Regions from separate parts of the Homo sapiens genome. Here region 2 is linked to region 1. The links are contacts of gene promoters, found by promoter capture Hi-C in blood cells and fetal thymus (Javierre and others, 2016). All regions are on one chromosome and are shown on one strand. The core of a region is centred on a gene start or on the middle of the fragment in contact, and the rest is flanking DNA. Distances in the headings are between cores, read along the strand shown.

The links. Contacts are between HindIII fragments. The CHiCAGO score rates a contact against its expected background, and 5 or more counts as called.
Region 2: a fragment that was not itself captured here is called in contact with the fragment with the promoter of AP1S3 in region 1 in 1 of 17 cell types (M0 macrophages); the score reaches 6.1 in M0 macrophages.

What each region holds. Positions count from the first base shown.
Region 1 is chr2:223,834,384-223,841,090 of GRCh38, forward strand. AP1S3 (adaptor related protein complex 1 subunit sigma 3) reads right to left here and starts at 3,199. Exons shown (of 5, transcript NM_001039569.2): 1 at 3,065-3,199. The coding sequence starts at 3,067. RefSeq lists enhancers at 2,606-2,695, 3,566-3,745 and silencers at 2,806-3,235, 3,266-3,395. The HindIII fragment of the contact is 4,145 bases long and covers 2,724-6,707 here.
Region 2 is chr2:222,957,458-222,964,164 of GRCh38, forward strand. No RefSeq gene overlaps it. Among named protein-coding and RNA genes, the nearest start is that of ACSL3-AS1, 41 kb to the left of the region's middle. RefSeq lists an enhancer at 2,926-3,025. The HindIII fragment of the contact is 1,221 bases long and covers 2,765-3,985 here.

The DNA.
Region 1 (6,707 bases), core at 1,949-4,448:
AGTTCAAGACCAGCCTAGGCAACAAAGTAAGACCTCATTTATACAAAAATCAAAAAATTACCTGGGCATGATGGCACACACCTGTGGTCCCAGCTACATGGAAGGCTGAGGTAGGAGGATGCCTTGAGTCCACTGGGTTGAGGCTGCAGTAAGCCATGTTCATGCTACTGCACTCTACTCTGGGTGATAGAACAAGCCTTGTCTCAAAATAAATAAATAAATAAATAGCTGGGCATGGTGGGACATGCCTACAGTCCCAGCTACTCAAGAAGCTGAGGTAGGAGGGTTGCTGGAGCCTAGGAGGTTGAGGCTGCTGTGAGCTGTGATCACACCACTGCACTCAGCTTGGGCGACACAGAGACCCTGTCTCAAAAATAAATAAATAAAAAGAAAAAACAATAGTAAACCTATTACACATTAAACATAAATAACATTTTTATGACCAATAACAATATTTTTCCAAAGCAAAAAAAAAATTAGTGAAAAGCATGGCACTGTTTTACAATTTTGCAAATCTCCTTAATGTCTGGGCTTATCAAAGACAGTTGGACTTTCCTATCTGCATCTGTGTTCAATCTGTTGTACTATCTCAGCTTATGTAGACACAAGAAAACTTCACTGTAGTCTTGTGAGAATGAGAATGAAATGGGAAAATTAATATCTTAGTATTATTATGAAAATAGTTTTGACCTTGCAGACCTCCAGTAAAAGTCTTGGGGACTGCTGGGGGTACCCAGGTCACACTTTCAGAACCTCTGCCTTATGAGTTAGGAGATATTATCTCCATTTTTCAAATGGGCAAACTGAGACAGAGAGGTCAAGGAATTGTCCAAGGCCATACTGCTAGAATAGCTCAGAGTAGCTAAAATGCAATGAGCATAACAGATTTAACCTCAATTGTTTGTTGCAAGGATTGAATGAGATCGTGAATATAAAGAGCAGGACATCCTGCTTGTCTTATCACAAATGCCCAATAACATTAATGTTTCCCCGCCAGGTGCGGTGGCTCATGCCTGTAATGCCAGCACTTTGGGAGGCCGATGCAGGTGGATCACGAGGTCAGGAGTTTGAGACCAGCCTGGCCAACATGGCAAAACCCCGTCTCTACTAAAAATACAAAAATTAGCTAGGCGTGGTGGCGGGCGCCTGTAATCCCAGCTACTTAGGAGGCTGAGGCAGGAGAATTGCTTGAACTCGGGAGATGGAGGTTGCAGTGAGCCAAGATCATGCCACTGCACTTCAGCCTGGGTGACAGAGCAAGATTCCGTCTCGAAGAAAAAAAAATAATAATAATGTTTCCCATTTAGCAAAAACTGGTAGAAAAGCTGGAGAAACTTCCCACATTTCTGATCAACTCATCACACATATGACACCAGCAAGAAAAAATAAAACTCCACCACAGGTATTGTCCAGAGGAGCAGCTTTTCCTTATAGACCAAACCTTGGCCCATTCCTCAGCACAAAAGCAGCCTTTGATGACTCAGAAACGCAGGGCCTTATTCCAGCCTCTGTTAGGCAAATTACACTGGTGGACTGGGCATCTGTCACCTTGTTCCTTGGGAAACTTGAGCAAGCCAAGAAACCTGCTCCATTATTTACAGCATTGTTTTTGCATCACGCTGTATTTACAAGGAACCCTCAACAGACAAAAATGATGCCGCTAGTGTGTGCAGCCAAACCTTTAACAGAAACCAGCAACTGCGGTCTTGCTGGCCAGGTGCTCAGCACTCCCCGGCTCTCTTTGTTGATCAACTTTCTTAGCCCACGTGGCCCACCCACTCCTGCCTCCGGTGGGCCCACAGGGTGCAGGTCACTTCCCTTCTGCGGATTTGGGAAGTGGTAACACACTTGGGGAAGTGGGACTAGTGACGTTCAGACCACCACACTCTTAAAAGGCTGCCCCTAAACAGCAGGCAAGAGCAAGAGGAGCCTGAGCTATCGCTTCCACCCAAGTGCAGGTCACCAGATCTCTCATCAGCAGGGCTGCGGCCGGCCTCAGCTTCCAACCTGACCCCCTATCCCCTGCCCTTACACACCCCAGTCCATTCTCCAACCACAGCCAAACTGCACACCATGCCGGGTGCAGTGGCTCACCCCTGTAATCCCTACACTTTGGGAGGCCGAGGCAGGCGGATCACCTGAGGTCAGGAGTTCGAGACCAGCCTGGCCAACATGGTGAAACCCCGTCTCTACTAAAAATACAAAAATTAGCTGGGTGTGGTGGCACACGCCTGTAATCCCCGTTACTCGGGAGGCTGAGGCAGGAGAATCGCTTGAACCCGGGAGGCAGAGCCGAGACCACACCACTGCACTTCAGCCTGGGCGACAGAGCGAGATCAGTCTCAAAAAAACAAAAGTGCACAACGGGTAAGGTCAGTTTTCTTGCTAAAACGTCCCCGAGGTTTCCCCTACTCAGTTGGAACCAAAACCAAACTCCTTATTTTGGCCTATAAAAACCCGCCTCACCTGGCAGAAGCCCACCTCTCCTGCCACAAACAAGGCCTTCTCCCCTCCGCTTTGCTCTCTCTAATCCACCTGTAGCGCCCCTCCAGGACCTCCAGCAGCTAGAATGTCATGTCCTTGAAGAGGCTTTGCCAAATCAAAAGTTGCCACTCCACCCGGTTGTATTTGAGACTTTACAGCGCTTCTTACTTTAGAAGTTCTCTTCATTTTACTTGTATATTGGACGTGTCCCTCCCTCCGCATCCCCCTCCTGGAAGGTAAGCTTCCTGGAGAACAGGGGCTCCTCCTGGTCCCCCGCGACATCCCCAGCGCCCAGCACCGAGCCCGGCACAGACTAAGCACTCGGCTAAGGCGGATCGAATGAATGAATGGAGCCGCGGCGCCGCGGCGCCGCGTTGCCGCAGGAATCCCGGGCAAGCGATCCTGGCGCGTCCGCACCGTCTGGGGCAGCGGGGCCACAGGGACGCACGGTTCGGGTGGCCAGGCGGGACTCGGCCCGCACCCCCACCCGGCCGCGCGCCCGGCCCGGACGCCCCAGGTGCCTCCCCGGAGCGCGAGCGCCCCCACCGCCTACCCGGGCCGGCGGTTCCCCCGCACTCACCATCGTGGCTGGGCCGCCGCCTCCCCCGCCTTGCGAGCAAGGAGCGCTGGAGAAGCGAGGGCGAGAGGCGAGCGCTGGAGCCGGTGCGGCTGACAGGTGAGGCGCCCGGCTTAGACCATGGCTGCTTCCCACAATGCCCTGGCACTGAAAGTGTGCAGACTCCTCCCAGCGCGGCTGCCTCCTCCCTGCACGCTCCTCCCCGCTGCCTCCTCCCCGCGCCCTCCTCCCCGCTCCCCCCGCTCCTCGCCCTCCTGCTCTCCTTCTTTCTTCCTTTCCCCTTTCTCCTCCCTTCTCCTCCTCCTCCTCCTCTTCCCTCCTTTCTGCCTCTCCTCTGTACCCCCTCCCCGCCCCCGCCTCGGCTGCAGCTGTTCCCGCCCCGAGCCGGCCGCACCTGGAGCGAATGCACCTGCGCGCGCGGGCGTCTGTACCCCGACAGCCCGCAGCTCGGCGCGGGTGGTCAGGCGAGAGCGCGTGGCCCGCTAGGAACTCCCTGCGCGGGGAACTCCCTGCGCGGAGAACACCGGGGACTTTTCGCGATTCTGCCGCGCGAGTGTGTCCTGTATTCCTTCCGCAAACGTTTATCAAACCTGGCAAAGATACTTCCGATACACTCGCAGAAAGTGCCGGGGGCTGCCTTATCCTAAGCCTCCTAGGGAGGGAGCAGTTGGAAGAGAAAGAACTAGAAGCGTTTTCTTATCCCCTTCTGCCCCCATTTCACTTTTTAAAAAGTAAGCTCTGCAGTCTAAGGGCAAAGATCATTTTAAGCAGGCCCCCATTTATTTATTTATTTATTTATTTATTTATTTATTTATTTATTTATTTAGAGACGGAGTGTCGCTCTGTCGCCCCGTCTGGAGTGCAGTGGGGCGATCTCGGCTCCCTGCAACCTCCGCCTCCTGCGTTCAGGGTGATCCACCCGCCTCGGCCTCCCAAAGTGCTGGGATTACAGGCATGAGCCACTGCGCCCGGCAGCACGACCCCCTTTTAAGAAGTCTCTCCTAAGAAGTTGTGGTGTAGAAAGTTCGTTCTCCAATCTCTCCTCCCCTTGACTTTTCTTAAATCTAGGGCGTTGAGAGTCTCTAAACCCCCAAGCTGTAAACAGAGTTTTTTCTTTTTTCTTTTAATTATATTTACCAGATAGACTAGATGTAAGCAGAGTTTTTAATGCATATTCATGTTTTTGAGAAAGGGAGTCCACTGGTTTTATCAAATAGCTAAAGAGATCCTAGACCCTGCAAAAGTTAAGAATCATTTCCTGGGCCAGGCGTGATGGTTCATGCCTGTAATCCCAACACTTTGGGAGGCCCAGGTGGGCGGATCGCTTGAGACCAGAAGTTCGAGACAAGCCTGGCCAACATGGTGAAACGCCGTCTCTACTAAAAATACAAAATTTAGCTGGGCGTGGTGGCACACGCCTGTAGTCCCAGCTACTAGGGAGGCTGAGGCAGGAGAGAATCGCTTGAACCCGGGAGACAAAGGTTGCAGTGAGCTGAGATCATCCAGCCTAGGTAACAGAGTGAGACTCAGTCTGAAAAAAAAAATGTCATTTCCTGGGTGGTCCCTGGAACCCCAAATCAGTGAAAGTCCTTCCCAGGATGTGTTGTGTACCTTCCTAGGGATGTAGGCCCACCCAGGTGACTGAAAATATGGGAAACTCCATCCACCCCTGCATTCACACTGCAAATATTCATCACTCTAGGCCAGGCCCTACAACAGGAGCCTGGGGGACCCAGCTGGGAACAAACAGGTGGTCTGTCTCCTGGAGCTTACGTCTCTTGTGGGACAACACATAATAAACAAGTAAATAAAATATAAGAAATTAAGATGAGTGCTAAGAAGGAGATATTTGAGTTCCTCGGATGGGCACAGGGAAGCTACATTGATTTAGCTGAGTGGTCAGGTAAGTGCCCCCTGGGGAGGTGACAGAAGACTTGGATGTGAGAAGCCAGCGCTCTGAAGAAGAAGAAAAAAAAGTCCTTCTGGAAACACTTCAAAAAAGGCCTCTATGTGAGTTAAGTGCCAGGAGGCCTAGAGGTGGGCAGGGGCCAGAGGCAATGAGTGTTCTCTACATTAGGGCATCACTGCAAGCCCCCAGGAGAGCCACAGCCTCCAGCCTCAAAGCTCTCAAACCTGGACTTGTGGCATTCTGCCGGGGGCATTGGAAGAGGACTATTTGACAACAGTTAAACCCCAGGCGATGGGATGATTTTGCTTCCTGAAAGAAAAGTGAATCTAGGACAGCTACTTTTTAACTCCTATGTTCTTCCCCCAGGGTCTGTTCCTTCCCTTTCTCAGTACATCATGCTTTATCTAACTAGATAGAATCTAATCTTTGTGCTTCTCCTCCTTTCTAGGTAACTTCAGGGCAGGGCCCAGCTCTGTGCCACCATCCAGAGCCTTGTGCTGTAAGGGTTTCTTTGCTAGTGGGAAAGAAATGGAATTACTAAAGGTGAATTACAAAGCTAAAGAAATCTCAGGCCAGGCGCCGTGGCTCATGCCTGTAACCCCAGGACTTTGGGAGACTGAGGCGGGGGGATCACCTGATGTCAGGCGTTCAAGACCAACCTGGCCAAAATGGTGAAACCCCTAATACAAAAATTAGCTGGGTGTGGTGGCGGGTGCCTATAATCCCAGCTACTCAGGAGGCTGAGGCAGGAGAATTGTTTGAACCCTGGAGGCGGAGTTTGCAGTGAGCCGAGATCCCCACTGTACTCCAGCCTGGACGACACTACGAGATTCTCGCAGAAGAAAAAAGGAAAAAAAAAAAAAAAAGCTAAAGAAATCATCTCAGTGCTCTTGCCATGACAGTTAAGTCAAATATTAAAGCAGGAAAGGCCAGGAGCGATGGCTCATGCCTGTAATCCCAGCACTTTGGGAGGCTGAGGCAGGTGGATCACCTGAGGTCAGGAGTTTGAGACCAGCCTGACTAACATGGTGAAACCCTGTCTCTACTAAATACAAAAAATTAGCCAGGCATGGTGGCACATGCCTGTAAGCCCAGCTACTTGGGAGGCTAAGAGAATGGCTTGAACCTGGGAGATGGAGGTTGCAGTGAGCCGAGATTGTGCCATTGCACTCCAGCCTGGGCAACAAGAGCTAAACTACATCTCAAAAAATAAAAATTAAAAAAAATAAAGCAGGAGAAGTTTCCCTTACTGTGTGGCTTATGGTTGGAGGGGGTGTAATTAAAGATGTAGAGGTTGAGGGGGGCAGGTAACTTAAAAATTATTAGTGTCCTTTGCCTTTCCTCCTGGCCTGGCTGAGATGGGCAGAGGATGCTCTCTGGGGCCTCTGCCACCCAGTGTTTTTTCCTCCAGATTCTCACACCATACCCCAAATCACCGAAGAGGGAGGCCTGCAGTGAGCTGGACACTTCACAGGGTTATCTTGGCTGCCCCCAAAACAATCCGTAAGAAAGGAAGCACTGTGGCCATGGTACAGATGAAAGCCTGAGGCTCAGAGGCTCAACAGCAATAATAAGAGGCAGGCCGGGCACAGTGGCTCAGGCTTGTAATCCCAGCGCTTTGGGAGGCCGAGGCAGGAGGACTGCTTAAGTTCGGGAGTTTGAGATCAGTCTGGGCAACATGGGAAGACCCCATCTCTATTTTAAAAATAATAATAATAAACTAAGTGTAAAAAGAAG
Region 2 (6,707 bases), core at 2,125-4,624, 880 kb before region 1:
TACCTGATATCATTATGATATTGATTCTTCCTATTTAAAAACAAGGTGTGTTCTCACTTATTTGTAGGATCCAAAAATAAAATCAATTGAACTCATGGACAGAGAGAGTAGAAAGATGTTTATGAGAGGCTGGGAAGGGGAGTGGGGATTGTGGGGGAGGTGAAGGTGGTTAATAGGTACCAAAAAACATAGAAAGAATGAATAAGGCCTACTATTTGATAGCACAATAGGACGACTATAGTCAATAATAACTTAATTGTATTTTGAAAATAACTTAAAGAATGTAATTGGATTGTTTGTAACTCAAAAGATAAATGTTTGAGGGGACAGATGGATACCCCATTCTCCATGATGTGCTTATCTCACATTGCATGCCTGTATCAAAACGTCTCATGTACCCCATAAATATTTACAATGGCTATCTACCCACAAAGATTTTTCAAATTTATAATAATAGAAAATAAAAATATAGTATGTCTCTCATTCGTTCATGTCAACTTTTCTTTTAGAATTGTTTTAAAGTTTTTCTTATGTAGATTTTGCACATTTCTTAAGTTTATTGCTATACCTTCTTTGTTGCTATTGTGAATGAGGTTTTATCATAAAACTTTCTAATTGGTTATGGCTTACGTATATGAAGACTATTGATTTCTGTACATTAGCTTTATTATCCTGCTATCTTATTTGAATCTTTTGAGCTAGTTTTATCATTGATTCTCTAAGATTCTCCAGGTATTCTTTCATGTCATCTGCAAATAGCTATAGTTTCACTTTTTTCAAATTTGTATGATTCTGCTTAGTTTATCTTATCTAGCTGTACTGTCTAAGATTATAGTACATGTTGAAGAGTAGTGGAGATAGTACAGATAGCTTTCAACAAATTACTCAGTGTTTCAGAGGGCTGATTTCCTATCCCATTTTCTCACTCCTTCTTGGCAACAGAACCCCAAACTCACTCAGTCAGCGGTGGATTCAGCTAAAGAACTGCAATCTAGATGTAACTTTACCTGGGTGTGATAATGAGACTAAATTTTGGTAAAAGAGAAATAAGTGGAATCATTATATGGTACTTTAGATCCTTCTCCTTCACCACTTTGCTACTACCTGGAATTGGGATGTAATGGCTGGACCTCTAGAGGGCTTTTTGGGCCGCAAGGTGACTTTGAGAATGGAAGCCATGCATCAGGATGGCTGCATTAGCAAGACAGAAAGAGCCTGTGTCCTTAATTATCAAGGAGCCCCATACCAAGCCAAGACTGCCTGCCACTGGACATTTTTACATGAGATAAAAAACAAATTTTTAACTTGTTTATGTTACTATTTCTTGGAGTTTCCAGTCACATGCAGCCAATCAAAATTCTAATGGAGTTTTGGTTTCTTCATCTGTAAAGTGATAGTATTTTACCTCACTGAGTTATCAGGATTAAATGAAATAGTTCATGTAAAAAAAGGCTGCATGGAGTAGGCACATTAAAAAAGTCTCCCATGATTTTGTGAGGTTTGAATGAGCTCTGTATTTGAGTGCCCTTTGCAAGTTGTCAACGGAAGGCCAACATTTTCATCTGTGCTTTGCACCTGTTCTCTTTCTTCTTTCTCAACTCTTCTATGATCAATTATCCTTTCATTTCTTGAATAGCTTACCTCTCTCTTTCAACTTGACTCTTCATGTTGATTTTAAACATTTGTGAGTTGTTCCCATTAAATCAAAACTGTCCCTTTTCCCCTCCAGCTATGATTTTGTCTTTCTCCTATTCTTCAAAGTCAAACTTTTCAAAATAATGTTTTCTTATCTGATGTATCAGACAGTGTTGGCTGTCCACCCAGACCTTTGAATCCCTGCTTTGTGTGTGTGCCTGCCCCCCTTCAGCGTGCTTTTGCTTCTAACACCCAGCACTATGGCTTCATGAGGACTGCCTTTGGGCTATGAGAACCACTCAGCTCCCACCTCCACCCTCCACAGATCCAGAAGGCCTTGGAATATATTCTAGGTAATTTCAGTACATTCCAGAAGTTCCTAGAATTTACTCAGGGTGACTCAGGGGCAATGCTTGAAAGCCACGCTCCCTCGCCTCAGGCTGGAACAACTGACACCACAGAGCTCTCCAGTGGGATCCAGGATCCGGCTGAAGCCACACTCTGCTGGCGTTTCCTGAGATTGCACCTTGGTTGGCCTCCTTCTCTTGTCTTCTTTGTTCTCCTTTCCCTCCCCTGACTGGCATTTTCTTGGGGCATTTTAATCAATCACTTGCACTTGAATGTCCCAGTCTGCATCTGAAAAACCTAACCCAAGACCCCTAATCTCCATCTCCTCCCCTCTTATTCACTCTCCAGCCCAACACAATTTGGCTTCTGGGCACATCATTCCAGGGAAGCAGCTCTTTCAGACAGCCCCCAAAACACGATGTCACTGAATCCAGTGCACACAGTTTAGTTCTGTCTTCCTTGACTTCACAGCACCATTCAATGCCACAGATCCATGGTTCTTGAAGCCCAGGTGTTCCCTGATGACGTCCCTGGCTTTCCCCTACATTTCGTGGCCTTTCTTCAGCTTGTCCTCTTCTATCCAGCCATTGAAACAGAGTGAGTTCTTTAGGCTCAGTCCTCTTTTCCCAGGTGGTCTCACCCAATCTCAGAGCTTCATTGCTACATGAAGGTTACCCACACATGTCTGTTGTAGCACTTTCTCTACTTGCTAAACATCTTTGCTTGAATGTCTCAAAAGTACCTCCAAGCTAAATTCGTAATAACCCTGTGCACAGAAGCAAGCTTGGTCCTCTTGCACTCTGCTCTAATGTGGTGAGTGTAGCACTTCTCCATCTGGCTAGAACCTGGGAGTCATGCTGGACTTCCCCCTCACCCTCGTGCACGTAGCCAACCAAGCACCAACTCCTGTGTCTTGTGCCTTCTGAGTCTCTCTCGAGTGATTCACTTTTCTCTACCACCACCTCCACTCGTGCCTTCTGTCATTCATAACCACGTTGATGGTAAAAATAGCCTCTTCACTGGCCTTTCTGCATTCATTTCTATACTCCTCTAATTTTTTCCCACATGACTGCCAGGCTGATCTTTCCAAAACATAAATTTAATTACATCTTAAAAAATAACTTGCTGAGATATAATTCACATACCACACAATTCATCTATTTAAGGCATAAAATTCATGCTTTTTAATATATTCACAGAGTTGTGCAAACATCACCACAATCTAATTTTAAGATTATTTCCATCATCCCAAAAAGAAACCCTGTATTCATTAGCAGTCACCTCCTGTTCCCCCACACCCCATTCCTGGGCAGCCACGAATCTACTTTCTGTCTCTATGGATTTGCCTATTCTGGACATTTCACATAAATACAATCATATAATACATAGTCTTTTGTGACTAGATTCTTTCACTTACTATGTTTTCAAAGTTTATCTATGTTGTAACACGTATTAGTACTTCATTTTTTTTGGCTGAATAATATTTTATTGCATGGATATATCACATTTTGTTTATTCATTAGTCACTTGATGGACATTTGGGCTGTTTCTCCTTTTCAGCTATTCTGAATAATGCTTCTGAGAGGTTCACATATAAGAGTTTTTGTTATTTTTTTTGAGATGGAGTCTTGCTCTGTTGCCCAGGCTAGAGTGCAGTGGCACTATCAGCTCACTGCAACCTCTGCCTCTGGGGTTCAAGCAATTATTGTGCCTCAGCCTCTTGAGTAGCTGAGATTACAGGTATGTGCCACCACGCCTGGCTAATTTTTGTATTTTTAGTAGAGACAGGGTTTTACCATGTTGGCCAGACTGGTCTCGAACTCCTGACATCAAGGATCTGCCCACCTCAGCCTTCCAAAGTGCTGGGATTATAGGCATGAGCCACTGTGCCTGGCCTCACATATAAGAGTTTTTGAGCGTAGATGTGTTTTCATTTCTCTCAGATATATACTTAGCAATGGAATTACTTGACCATATGCTAATTATATTATATTCTTTTACAAGCTTTTCAATGGCATTTCATGGCTGTTATGATGAATTCAGTCTCCTTTTTCTTGGTGCCCAAGTTTCCATATGGTCTGACCCTCACCTGCCTTGCTGCTGGTGTGGTCCTTGGATAGACTGTGCCATTTTTTTTGTTGATGTCTGTGTCATATTTTGGCTGGAACAATCTCAAATATTAATCTAAATCAACCTTAATCATTTACTGATTTCTATTTCTATGATATATCTATCATATATTACATGATTAGTCCAATCTTACTGTCAGACTGTGATATGGTTTGTTTGTGTCCCCACCCAAATCTCAACTTGAATTGTATCTCCCAGAATTCCCAAGTGTTGTGGCAGTGACCCAGGGGGAGGTAATTGAATCATGGGGGCCAGTCTTTCTCATCCTATTCTTGTGATAGTGAGTAAGTCTCATGAGATCTGATGGATTTATCAGGGGTTTCTGCTTTTGCTGCTTCTTCATTTTTCTCTTGCCGCCGCCATGTAAGAAGTCACCTCCTGCCATGATTTTGAGGCCTCCCCAGCTATGTGGAACTGTAGGTCCAAGTAAACTTCTTTTTCTTCCCAGTCTCAGGTATGTCTTTATCAGCAGCATGAAAACAGACTAATACAGTAAATTGGTACCAGTAGAGTGGGGTGTTGCTGAAAACATACCCAAAAATATGGAAGCCACTTTGGAATTGGGTAACAGGCAGAGGTTGGAACAGTTTGGAGGGCTCAGAAGAAGATAGGAAAATGTGGGAAAATTTGGAACTTCCTAGAGACTTGTTGAATGGCTTTGTCCAAAATGCTGATAGCAATATGGACAATAAGGTCCAGGCTGAGGTAGTCTCAGATGGAGATGAGGAACTTGTTGGGAACTGGAGTATATGTGACTCTAGTTATGTTTTAGCAAAAAGACTGGTGGCATTTTGCTCCTGCCCTAGAGATTTGTGGAACTTTGAACTTGTGAAAGATGATTTAGGGTATCTGGTGGAAGAAATTTCTAAGCAGCAAAGCATGCAAGAGGTGACTTGGGTTCTATTAAAGGCATTCAATTTTATTAGGGAAGCAGAGGAAAACTTGCAGCCTGACTATGGAATAGAAAAGAAAATTCCATTTTCTAGGGAGGAATTCAAGCCAGCTGCAGAAATTTGCATAAGTAGCAAGGAGCCTAATGTTAATCCCCAAGACCATGGGGAAAATATCTCCAGGCCATGTCAGAGACCTTTGAGACAGCCCCTCCATTCACAGGCCCAGAGGCCCAAGAGGAAAAAGTGGTTTCGTGGGCCAGGCCCAGGGTCCTCGTGCTGTGTGCAGCCTAGGGACTTGGTGCTCTGTGTCCCAGCTGCTCCAGCCATGGCTGTAAGGGGCCTACGTACAGCTCAGTTAGCAGCTTCCACGTGGTGTTGAGCCTGAGATGCACAGGAATCAAGAATTGAGGTTTGGGAACCTCCACCTAGATTTCAGAGGATGTATAGAAATGCCTGGATGCCCAGGCAAAAGTTTGCTGCAGGTGTGGGGCCCTCATGGAGAATCTCTGCTAGGACAGTGCGGAAGGGAAATGTGGGGTCACAGCCCCCACACAGAGTCCCTACTGGGGCACTGCTTAGTGGAGCTGTGAGAAGAGGGCCACATTCTCCAGACCCCAGAATCATAGATCCACTGACAGCTTGCACCGTCCACCTGGAAAAGCTGCAGACACTCAACACCAGCTTGTGAAAGCAGCTGGGAGGGAGGCTATACCCTGCAAAGCCACAGGGATGGAGCTGCCCAAGACCATGGGAACCCACCTCTTGTATCAGTGTGACCTGGATGTGAGACCTAGAGTCAAAGGAGATCATTTTGGAGCTTTAAAATTTGACTGCCCCGCTGGATTTCAGACTTGCATGTGCCCTGTAACCCCCTTGTTTTGGCCAATTTCTCCCATTTGGAATGGCTGTATTTACCCAATACCTGTACCCCCATTGTATCCAGGAAGTAACTACCTTACTTTTGATTTTACAGGCTCATAGGTGGAAGGGACTTGCCTTGTCTCAGGTGAGACTTTGGACTGTGGACTTTTGGGTTAATGCTGAAATGAGTTAAGACTTTGGGGGACTGCTGAGAAGGCATGATTGGTTTTGAAATGTGACAACATGAGATTTGGAGGGGCCATGGGTGGAATGACATGGTTTGGCTGTGTCCCCACCCAAATCTCAACTTGAATTGTATCTCCTAGAACTCCCACGTGTTGCAGGAAGGACCCAGAGGGAGGTAATTGAATCATGGGGGCCGGTCTTTCCTGTGCTATTCTCGTGATAGTGAATAAGTCTCATGAGATCTGGTGGGTTTACCAGGGGTTTCCACTTTTGCTTCTTCTTCATTTTCTCTTACCATGTAAGAAGTGCCTTTCACCTCCTGTCATGATTTTTGAGCCCTCCCCAGCCACGTGGAACTGCAAGTCCAGTTAAACCTCTGTTTCTTCCGGGTCAGGTGTATGTCTTTATCAGCAGCATGAAAACGGACTAATACAGACGGATTTCTATTTCCTCTTTTTGCTCCAGGACTTTGGGCCACAGTGGGCTTTTTTTCATCCCCTGTCTTCACTAAACTGTAGGTCTGGAAAGTTCTCTCTGGGCGTTAAAATTTTTTCAGTTAAAATATGACATAGATATCAACAAAGAAATGGCACAGCCTATCCAAAGACCATACCAGCAACTGAATAAAATTTTACTGGTGGCAGGTAACTTCTC